Linked DNA regions of Homo sapiens: regions 1 and 2 are each linked to region 3. The links are contacts of gene promoters, found by promoter capture Hi-C in human tissues and cell types (Jung and others, 2019). All regions are on one chromosome and are shown on one strand. Each heading gives the region's core, a stretch centred on a gene start or on the middle of the fragment in contact. The rest is flanking DNA. Distances are from core to core; before and after follow the strand shown. Region 1 overlaps LIMCH1 (LIM and calponin homology domains 1). Region 2 has its middle 18 kb from the start of RHOH. Region 3 holds the start of NSUN7 (NOP2/Sun RNA methyltransferase family member 7).

What was found. Contacts are between HindIII fragments. The study calls those that stand out against the background at their distance.
Region 1: a fragment that was not itself captured here is called in contact with the fragment with the promoter of NSUN7 in region 3 in 1 of the 25 tissues and cell types used here (lymphoblastoid cells).
Region 2: a fragment that was not itself captured here is called in contact with the fragment with the promoter of NSUN7 in region 3 in 1 of the 25 tissues and cell types used here (lymphoblastoid cells).

Annotation. Positions count from the first base shown.
Region 1 is chr4:41,640,220-41,643,146 of GRCh38, forward strand. All of the region lies in intron 14 of LIMCH1 (LIM and calponin homology domains 1), which reads left to right. Among named protein-coding and RNA genes, the nearest start is that of LIMCH1-AS1, 51 kb to the right of the region's middle. The HindIII fragment of the contact is 7,085 bases long and covers 1-2,927 here.
Region 2 is chr4:40,177,668-40,180,683 of GRCh38, forward strand. It overlaps a transcript of N4BP2 not described here. Among named protein-coding and RNA genes, the nearest start is that of RHOH, 18 kb to the right of the region's middle. The HindIII fragment of the contact is 6,789 bases long and covers 1-3,016 here.
Region 3 is chr4:40,748,464-40,751,230 of GRCh38, forward strand. It overlaps NSUN7 (NOP2/Sun RNA methyltransferase family member 7), which reads left to right and starts at 1,492. Exons shown (of 12, transcript NM_024677.6): 1 at 1,492-1,837; 2 at 2,140-2,528. The coding sequence starts at 2,231. The HindIII fragment of the contact is 15,367 bases long and covers 1-2,767 here.

The DNA.
Region 1 (2,927 bases), core at 126-2,625, 890 kb after region 3:
CCTGCAATGGCAATATTTAACATTCACTGAAAGGAGGATTTTATAAGATTGACAGGCAAAACACTACTTTGGTTTGGTGAGCGAAAACATTTTGATAGAATGGATTTCTTCTTCATCAATGCAAGGCTGCTATACAATTTGCTTAAAATAGACCCCTGGGAAAGGTGAAAGAAAGGAAGGGAAATTAAAGAGTTTCTGAATTTTGCCTTCACCTGAACACAAAACTTCACCCACAGGAAAAGTTAATGATTTCTTAAAAGGGGTGGGGACAGGGACTCCCTTCTTGCCTTCTCTAAGTTTACAAAATGCAGCCCCAGGGACCAAGAAGAGTAAAAGGAGCTTTTTTTCCAGAGCTCTTATCTAGGGATATCCAAAGTGCTGAGTTTCCTGCTTAGAGCAGATACAATTTACATGAAACCATGTGGGGAACAAAATGAAAAGTTGATATCAGGAATTTATTCTTAAAATAGAAACTTATACTATTTTTAGTTTATTCCCTTAATATCTCCTTTTTCCAAAATCTTTAAAGGCAGTTTTTTGGCACAGGCTATATTTATTAATAATTGACACATTCTTAAAATAGAGCCCAATCAAAAAAAAGATGAGCCCTTTAAGGAGAATATAGGTCAGGGGCAGACCTACCGCACAGGCAAACAGAGAAATTTCCACCTCCTAACCAGCCAAGAATGTTTCCATAGATTTAATTTCACCTTCTTGCCCTTTTCTTCACTTTCACACTCTTTCCCTCCCAATACCTGGCCCACCAAAGGAGTCGGTACGTTGTGAGAGCCATAGGCCATTTTATTCTGAATTCCTTTACGGTAGACTTGGCCCAGAAACAATTTCCAGGCCCTTGGGGTAATTCCATCCCGGCCCTCAAAAATGCCAACCCACCACCAAGGGAGACTCCTGGACTCTGCAGCCAGGAGCCCTCATCCCAACAGCCCAAGGGCATAGACGTAGGTACTGAGGAGCACAGGATTAGTCCAAGTCACATTAATATTCTGGAAGCTGGCCATCTCCAGGATCCCATATCCGCCAACCCCCATCCCCAGACACACACCTCTTCATTTGGGAGGCCAAGTCTAACCTGAACTAGGGAACATGTTCTGAATGACAACTCAGCCCATTTTCTTTCTAGTATTATCAATTCTCAACTTCTTAATTTTTTTTTGAAAATGGCATAAATATATCACTCATAGGTTTGTTATTTCTTTTTTGGCCAGTTTGCTGATATTTCTTAAAAAAAAAAAATCTTGAGAAAAAAAATCATACAGGTTGAGCCTGCCTTATAGAAAATGTTTGGAATGAGAAGTGTTTCAGATTTTGAACTTTTTTAGATTTTGGAATATTTGCATATACATAGTGAAGTATCTTGAGGATGGAACCCAAGTCTAAACATGAAATTCATTTATGTTCCATATATACCTTATACATATAGACTGGAGGTGATTTTATACAATAGTTTAAATAATTTTGTGCATGAAACAAAGTTTTGGCTGCACCCCATCACACAAGGTCAGGTGTGGAATTCTCCACTTGTGGGGTCATGTCAGCATTCAAAGAGTTTTGGAGTTTGGAGCATTTCAGATTTCAGATTTTTGGATTAGGGATGTTCAACCATGTACTTCCTGGTACATGAAAGGGCAAACGAGTTTCTCCTTTTATTTAACTAACTGGCTTCTGGCCACATTTGGGCTGAGCTAGTTAGAGCTTCACAGTGGGAGTAGAGATGGGAACGCAGGACAGACAAAGGTAATTCTTAAGGTCTGCTCTCATTTTCTCCATGCCCATTGGGTGAGATAATCAAATCCCAGATCCTGGAGAAGGCTGCCATTTTCTTCTTGGGGTCCCAGAAGAAAACCTGGATCTATGGCCACCCATAGTGGCCTAAACCAAAATTCTGACCTGTAGATATTATAGATGGCAGAGTTGAATGAAGGGACCTCTTTTCTCTCCCATAATCTACAAACTACTTAGTGGGATGGTAAGAGGGTCCCAGCTCAGAGAGGTTTAAGTCTTCTAAGATCTTAGCAAAGATTATAAATCACCTTAAAAGATGAACTGACTAGATTGAATATTTTAAAAGTAAGATTTTTTTTTTTTAAACTGTGAGAGGAAGAATGGGACGAATTTTTGTGTCTTTCTGGAAGGCCTGCTTAAGTGAATTTTGATCCATGAAGTTTAAAAGCATGGGTTAGACTTTTCTACCTAATCCTGCAAATTTCTTAATCTTTCTTAGATACCATTAATCAATAGTCTAAAATAGATGAAAAATCACAGCCCTTCTCCTCTATCGAGGACTACAGTTTCTTTCTTTTTCTTTTCTTTCATTCTTTATTTTATTTTATTTTTTTGAGATAGAGTCTCGCTCTGTCACCCAGGCTGGAGTGCAGTGATGTAATCTCAGCTCACTGCAACTTCTGCCTCCCAGGTTCAAGCCATCCTCCTGCCTCAACCTCCCTAGTAGCTGGGACTATAGGCGTGTGCTAGCATGCCTAATTTTTTTTCTTTTTTCTTTTTTTTTTTTTGTATTTTTAGTAGAGAAGGGGTTTCACCATGTTGGCCAGGCTGGTCTTGAATTCCTGACCTCAAGTGATCTGCCCACCTTGGCCTCCCAGAGTGCTGGGATTACAGGCGTGAGCCACCACACCTGGCCCAGCTTATTTTTTCTAGAAGCCACAGCTGCTGAAATCAACATTCTCCACTGAATACATGGAGGCAGCATTATGCAATGGCTTGTCATATCCATGCTAATAGAAACCTCAGCTAAGAGTCCTTCTGTGCAGCCAGATTATTAGAATACTCTTGGGGAAGACAGGTTACAAGTACAGTTTTTCAGTTTAGTTCTCTTAGACTTAAATTGTCCAACATCTGGAGAGCAGAGAGAGGCACTCACACATTTATACACATTCCTTTTGAGTGGA
Region 2 (3,016 bases), core at 173-2,672, 570 kb before region 3:
AGCACAGACTCCGTGTGAGGATATCTGATTTTCAGTATCAAATGCTCTCATTTTCTAGTGTCAGATCCCTCATTTGTAGAGTGTAAGGCTTTGGCTCTCTTTACGGCTGCTCCCAGCTCTAATGTTCTTCCATCTTCTCTGCAGTCATCTCACATGCAGGGCTCTTTAGGGGACAGCAACTTTATTTTCACAAATCTTACATAGCCCAGGTGCCTGCATGGGTTCACTCTGTCCTTTGAATAAAATAGTCTCAAATAAATGCTTTTGTTATGAAATGAGAGCAACAGAAAACAGAAAGATGAGGCATTTAACTTAAGCAACCAGAAAAAAACAAAAACAAAAAAACAGTAAGTAGAAAGTAAGGTGCCTGTAATCCTAGCTACTCAGGAGGCTGAGGCAGGAGAATCGCTTGAACCCAGGAGGCGGAGGTTGCAGTGAGCCGAGATCATGCCACTGCACTCCAGCCTGGGTGACAGAGCGAGACTGGGTCCAACAAACAAACAAACAAAGAACCCAACAAAACAAAACAAAACAGGAGGATGAATTCTTTGCTCAGAAATGTGTACAATCTAAAAACAATCTTTACCTTTCTCTCAACTGTCAGTGTCAACACAAATGGGATAGAATCAGAAATGAATAAATTGGAAAATAATGATAAAGCAAGAGTTAGCAAGTAAAATCAAAAGTTGTTCCTTTAAGATATATAAATGTTGTAGGAAAACCTCCGGCAAGACTACTCCCCCGCCCCGCCACCAAAACAAAAAAAAAAAGAAAAGAAAAACCTTCATCTTTAGGCACAAGAAAGGTACTCACAGATATGAAAGAGATTGAAGAATTGTAACTAGTGGTACTTGGGCAGCATGTACCTTTCTGGTAGATTTCAATGATTATTAACGTGGGCATACTTTATCATTGTAAAAAACAATCACCACTCTTGGTCTTCCAGCTACCATGCTTAACAAGGACAATATCCAGCTCTCTAGATAACGAAATAAGTTGCCCAGGACAAAACAAAGTTTTGGAAAGGTTTGAACAGACTCCGTCTGCACAGTTTCCTTGAGACATGCGAAATGTGTAGGGAACGAACTTCCTTTCAATATGAGCACACATTTGCCTTCCATGGGATAAGACATGCTTAGTGCAGCTGCTGTCGGAGAGCTCTGTCAGGGCAAGACTCACAGTTGAAACTCCCTGCCTCAAGTTCTTGTATTTGCTTAAACCTGGCTGAGTTTTTGCAGCTGGTACTTCTATTTGATTTGCAGTGTGACACTGCCCTTCTCATTTTCTGTCTTTGTGGTTGCCGATTTTTCATTTTTATTGATAGCAGCAGGTGGCAGAAAGCATAAGACCATTATAAGGAATGGATGTATTTGTGGAGCATTTATTTATGGGTCCTAGTAGATATTAAAACGTTTTGGAGGCTGGGCGCAGCAGCTCATGCCTGTAATCCCAGCAGTTTGGGAGGCCGAGGCGGGCAGATCACAAGGTCAGGAGATCGAGACCATCCTGGCTAACATGGTGAAACCCTGACTCTACTAAAAGTACAAAAAAATTTAGCTGGGTGTGGTGGCTGACGCCTGTAGTCCCAGCTACTTGGGAGGCTGAGGCAGGAGAATGGCATGAACCCGGGAGGCAGAGCTTGCAGTGAGCCAAGATCGAGCCACTGCACTCCAGCCTGGGCGACAGAGTGAGACTCCATCTCAACAAACAAACAAACAAACAAACGAAAAACATTTTGGAAAACTACCATTGAGTCACAGCAAAACTAATAGTAGCTAATGTTTATTGAAATCTTCTGTGTTGCAAGAGGGTGCTAAGCAGTTGGTATGTACTAATTCATTTAATCCTCACAACAGCCATAAGAGGTGTAGAGGCTATTATTATCCCCATTTAACAGTTGAGGAAACTGAGGCACATGGAAATTAAATAATTTTCCTGAGGTTACACAGCATAATCAAGATTTAAACTTGGGCAGGTTGGTGCCAGAGACTGTGCTCTTAACCATTATATTATTGCAATGTAATTTTGAAAGAATGATAAATCATGAATTATAGGAAAATATTGTTTACATTTTAGAGTGGTAAAGCCTTTCTTTTTTTTTTTTTTTTTTTTTTGAGACGGAGTTTCACTCTTGTTGCCCAGGCTGGAGTGCAGTGGAGTGATCTTGGCTCACGACAACCTCCACCTCCTGGGTTCAAGCCATTCTCCTGCCTCTGCCTCCCGAGTAGCTGGAATTACAGGCATGCGCCACCACGCCCGGCTACTTTTGTATTTTTAGTAGAGACAGGGTTTCTCCATGTTGGTCAGGCTGGTCTTGAACTCCTGACCTCAGGTGATCCGCCCACCTCGGCCTCCCAAACTGCTGGGATTACAGGCATGAGCCACCGCGCCTGGCCTAGAGTGGTAAAATCTTTCTAAGCAATTGCTAAACTTAAAAACTTGGGCATGGCAAAAGACACCATAAATAAAATAAAGACAAATGACTGAGAGATAATGTCTGTAACATATAAACAGATTATTGATATCTTTCATATACAAACAACTTTTCTAAACTGATATAACAATATTCAATAGAAAAAAATGGGCACAAGATATAAATATGCCATTTTAGAGGAGAAATACAAATGACCAGTAAATATGTGAAAAGATGTTGAATCTCAATAATAATTAATCAGCAAGACACCACTTTTCAACTAGAAAACTAAAAAAATTTCTGATAAAATCTAAAAAGATTTCTAACATCTGGTGTTGTGATAATGCAGGCAGATAGTTAGTCACTCTCATACATCACTGGTGGACTTCCCTGGAGTGGATTTGGCAATATCTACTACAATAAAAAAAAAATCTACTCTGAAACCTGCAAAGTCACTTCCTGTCATTATTCCACAGGAATACTTAATTACTCATGCACAATTCATTCATGTACAATCAATTCAGTTCACAATTACAAAACGTGTTACATCATTTTGTACAAGTATAGCACTGTTGGTAATAGCAAAAAAGTGAAATACATCAA
Region 3 (2,767 bases), core at 242-2,741:
GGTCTCGATCTCCTGACCTCGTGATCCGCCCGCCTCGACCTCCCAAAGTGCTGGGGTTACAGGCGTGAGCCACCGCGCCCGGTCAGGTGTCTGATCATTTCTATACATTCATTATTTTACTTGTAGGGCTGAACACAATGCCAGGGACACAGCAAGAATTTAATATATACTTGTTAAACGAACGAATGAATGCATGTATACATAAAATGTTACGGAATGTTTAACGTATTCCGGGGATAATGAAAGTGGGTGGATTTCTGAGAGAAGGGGTCAGGGTTAGAGTTCTGTACTGCTAATTTTTTCCCCATTATCCATTCTCTCCTTCTTCTACAGTAATAGTTCCCTTATTTTTAGCTGGACACATTTACCAGCCTCTTGGTTGCTGGGTATATGACTGAGTTCTGACCAATAAAATGTGAGCCAAAGTGATATGTGCACCTTTCAGGTCATTGAAAAATATGGGCTGCCCTCTCTTTCCCCTTCATCCTACTAACCACTGGCTGGAAATGGAAATGGCCTTAGCCTAAAGAAGGAAGGGCAAATCCCTAAGGAGGAAAGGCAGAGGTGGAATTAGGACCAGTTGTCTTTCAACTATACCAGAGTTTTTCAAACTGTGGTCTTTGGGCTGATTGCATCAGAATCGCCAGTTACCTGATAAAAATGCAAATTACTGGGTCTTAGCAACTCAAATCTCTAGGATGGGTTCCAAGGATTTTTTTTTAGCTGGAGGCGGTGGTTCACGCCTGAAATCCCAGCACTTTGGGAGGCCGAGGAGGGAGGACTCCTTGAGCCCAGGAATTCGAGACCACCCTGGGCAACATAATGGGAACCCTGTCTCTGTTATTAAAAAAAATTATTACAGACGGCGCAGTGGCTCACGCATGTAATCCCAGCACGTTGGGAGGCCAAGGCCGGCAGATCACTTGACGTCAGGAGTTCGAGACTAACTTGATCAACACGGTGAAACCCTGTCTCTACTAAAAATACAAAAATTAGCAGGGTGTGGTGGCGGGCGCCTGTAGTCCCAGCTACTCGGGAGGCTGAGGCATGAGAATCACGTGAACCCGGGAGGAGGAGGCTGCAGTGAACCGAGATTGCGCCACTGCACTCCAGCCTGGGCGACAGAGCGAGACCATGTCTCAAAAAAAAAATTATTACTATATTTTAAAAATATTTTAAAGAATGTGTAGTTTTAACAGGGACTTCAGGAACTTGTGAGTTAAAACCACGGAACTACGTCAGACTACCTCAAAAATATCCCCAAATGTTTATAAACAAAGCCAAGGGCACGCACTCAGGCCCGGTGAGGTCCAGGAACTGTGCAAGAGGCCTCTGGCTCGGAGGGGCTGAAACAGGTGTCTCCGCGCGCTGGGGGAAGAGCGACTCTCCCGGCAACAGGTAGCACCCGCCAAATCCCGCGGGAACGGCCCTCGCGCCGCGCCCCCTGCCCCACCTCCGCTCGCGGTTGCCATGAAGACCCGGTCCGGGAGCAGTCGACTGCCGGAGACTCGGGAGGCTGAGCTTTCCTCGGCCTGAGCCAGCCAGACCCCGGGCACCGCGCTCACCCCTCTTCGCCGCCACGTCCGCGAAGGCCTCACGCGCGAGGCCAGGCGAGGCCCCGAGGCGCCCACCACTTCACGACACCGGAGCGAACCGGGCGCCAGAGGCTGCGACCCCCCTGCCCCGAATCCTGCCGGTGGGAGTGGCTGCATTTGAACCAAACGGCCTTCGCGGGCAGCAGCCGTCGCCCCGCAGTCCCGGGGCTCCCAAGGGCCTGTGACCGACGCCGCCCTCCGCGTCTTCGTCCCCGAAGCCCCGGGAACCATCCGCCCTCGGGGTAAGGGAGGAGTCGGGGGAGCCGGTGACTGGGCTGTGGGGACGCGGACGGGGCTCCGGGGGCAGCTCTGCCCCCAGACTGGCTTGAGGGAAGCCGTCGGTCTCCTTGGGGCTCTTCTCCCTCCGCCGCTGCACCCCTCCTCGCTTTTTTTTTTTTTTTTGAGCGTCCCAGGCTCGAAGTCTGGGACACTCAGATGGGACGGGAAATGCTCCCTCTTAGTCTTTAAGGCCACAACGAAGGGGGCCACCCACAGGGGTGCTGCAGAAAGAGTGATTTACTGCAATCACCTTCTCTCTTCACAGAGACCATGCTGCAGATGCGAGGAAAGCCGTTTCCTGGAACATCGGAATTCTAACCCCAGGGTGAAGGACTCACGACAGGCGAGGGGCAGACATGCTGAATTCCACGGGCGAACTGGAGTTTTCGAACGAAGAAGATCCCGAGATCATCTCCCAACTCACTTCCCTGCCTCTGTCCGGTGGGAAAAGCTCAGCTGGTGTGCCCGAAAAAACGGGCTATCCGGACTCCGTTTATGTCATGGCAGCCAACATTTTTCAGGGTATTCGAATCGAAAAGTCGGCACAGAAAGTCTTAATCAAGTATGGGAATGAACCCCTGCGGTCCTTGTCCGAGTCTGAGGATCAGTCCTTTCAGCGTTTGTCTTATGAGCTGGCTTTCAGTGCCCTGAAATGTGAGTTGTGCCAGTCTGGAAGATCAACACTAAAAGAAAATAATAGCGAGAGAATTTGGGGAATGCAGCCCTCCTCCTCCCTTCCCCTCATTCACACCAGGTTTTGGTTTTAGGCATGTGCATATCTTTGGTTAATTGCAAGTGTCAAGGAATTAGGGTTCCCATGAAACTAGCTCTTCCAGCCCAGGATTGCAGATTTCCCCGTGCACTGTGTTTGTCCTTAGATCGGTGTAGTGCGC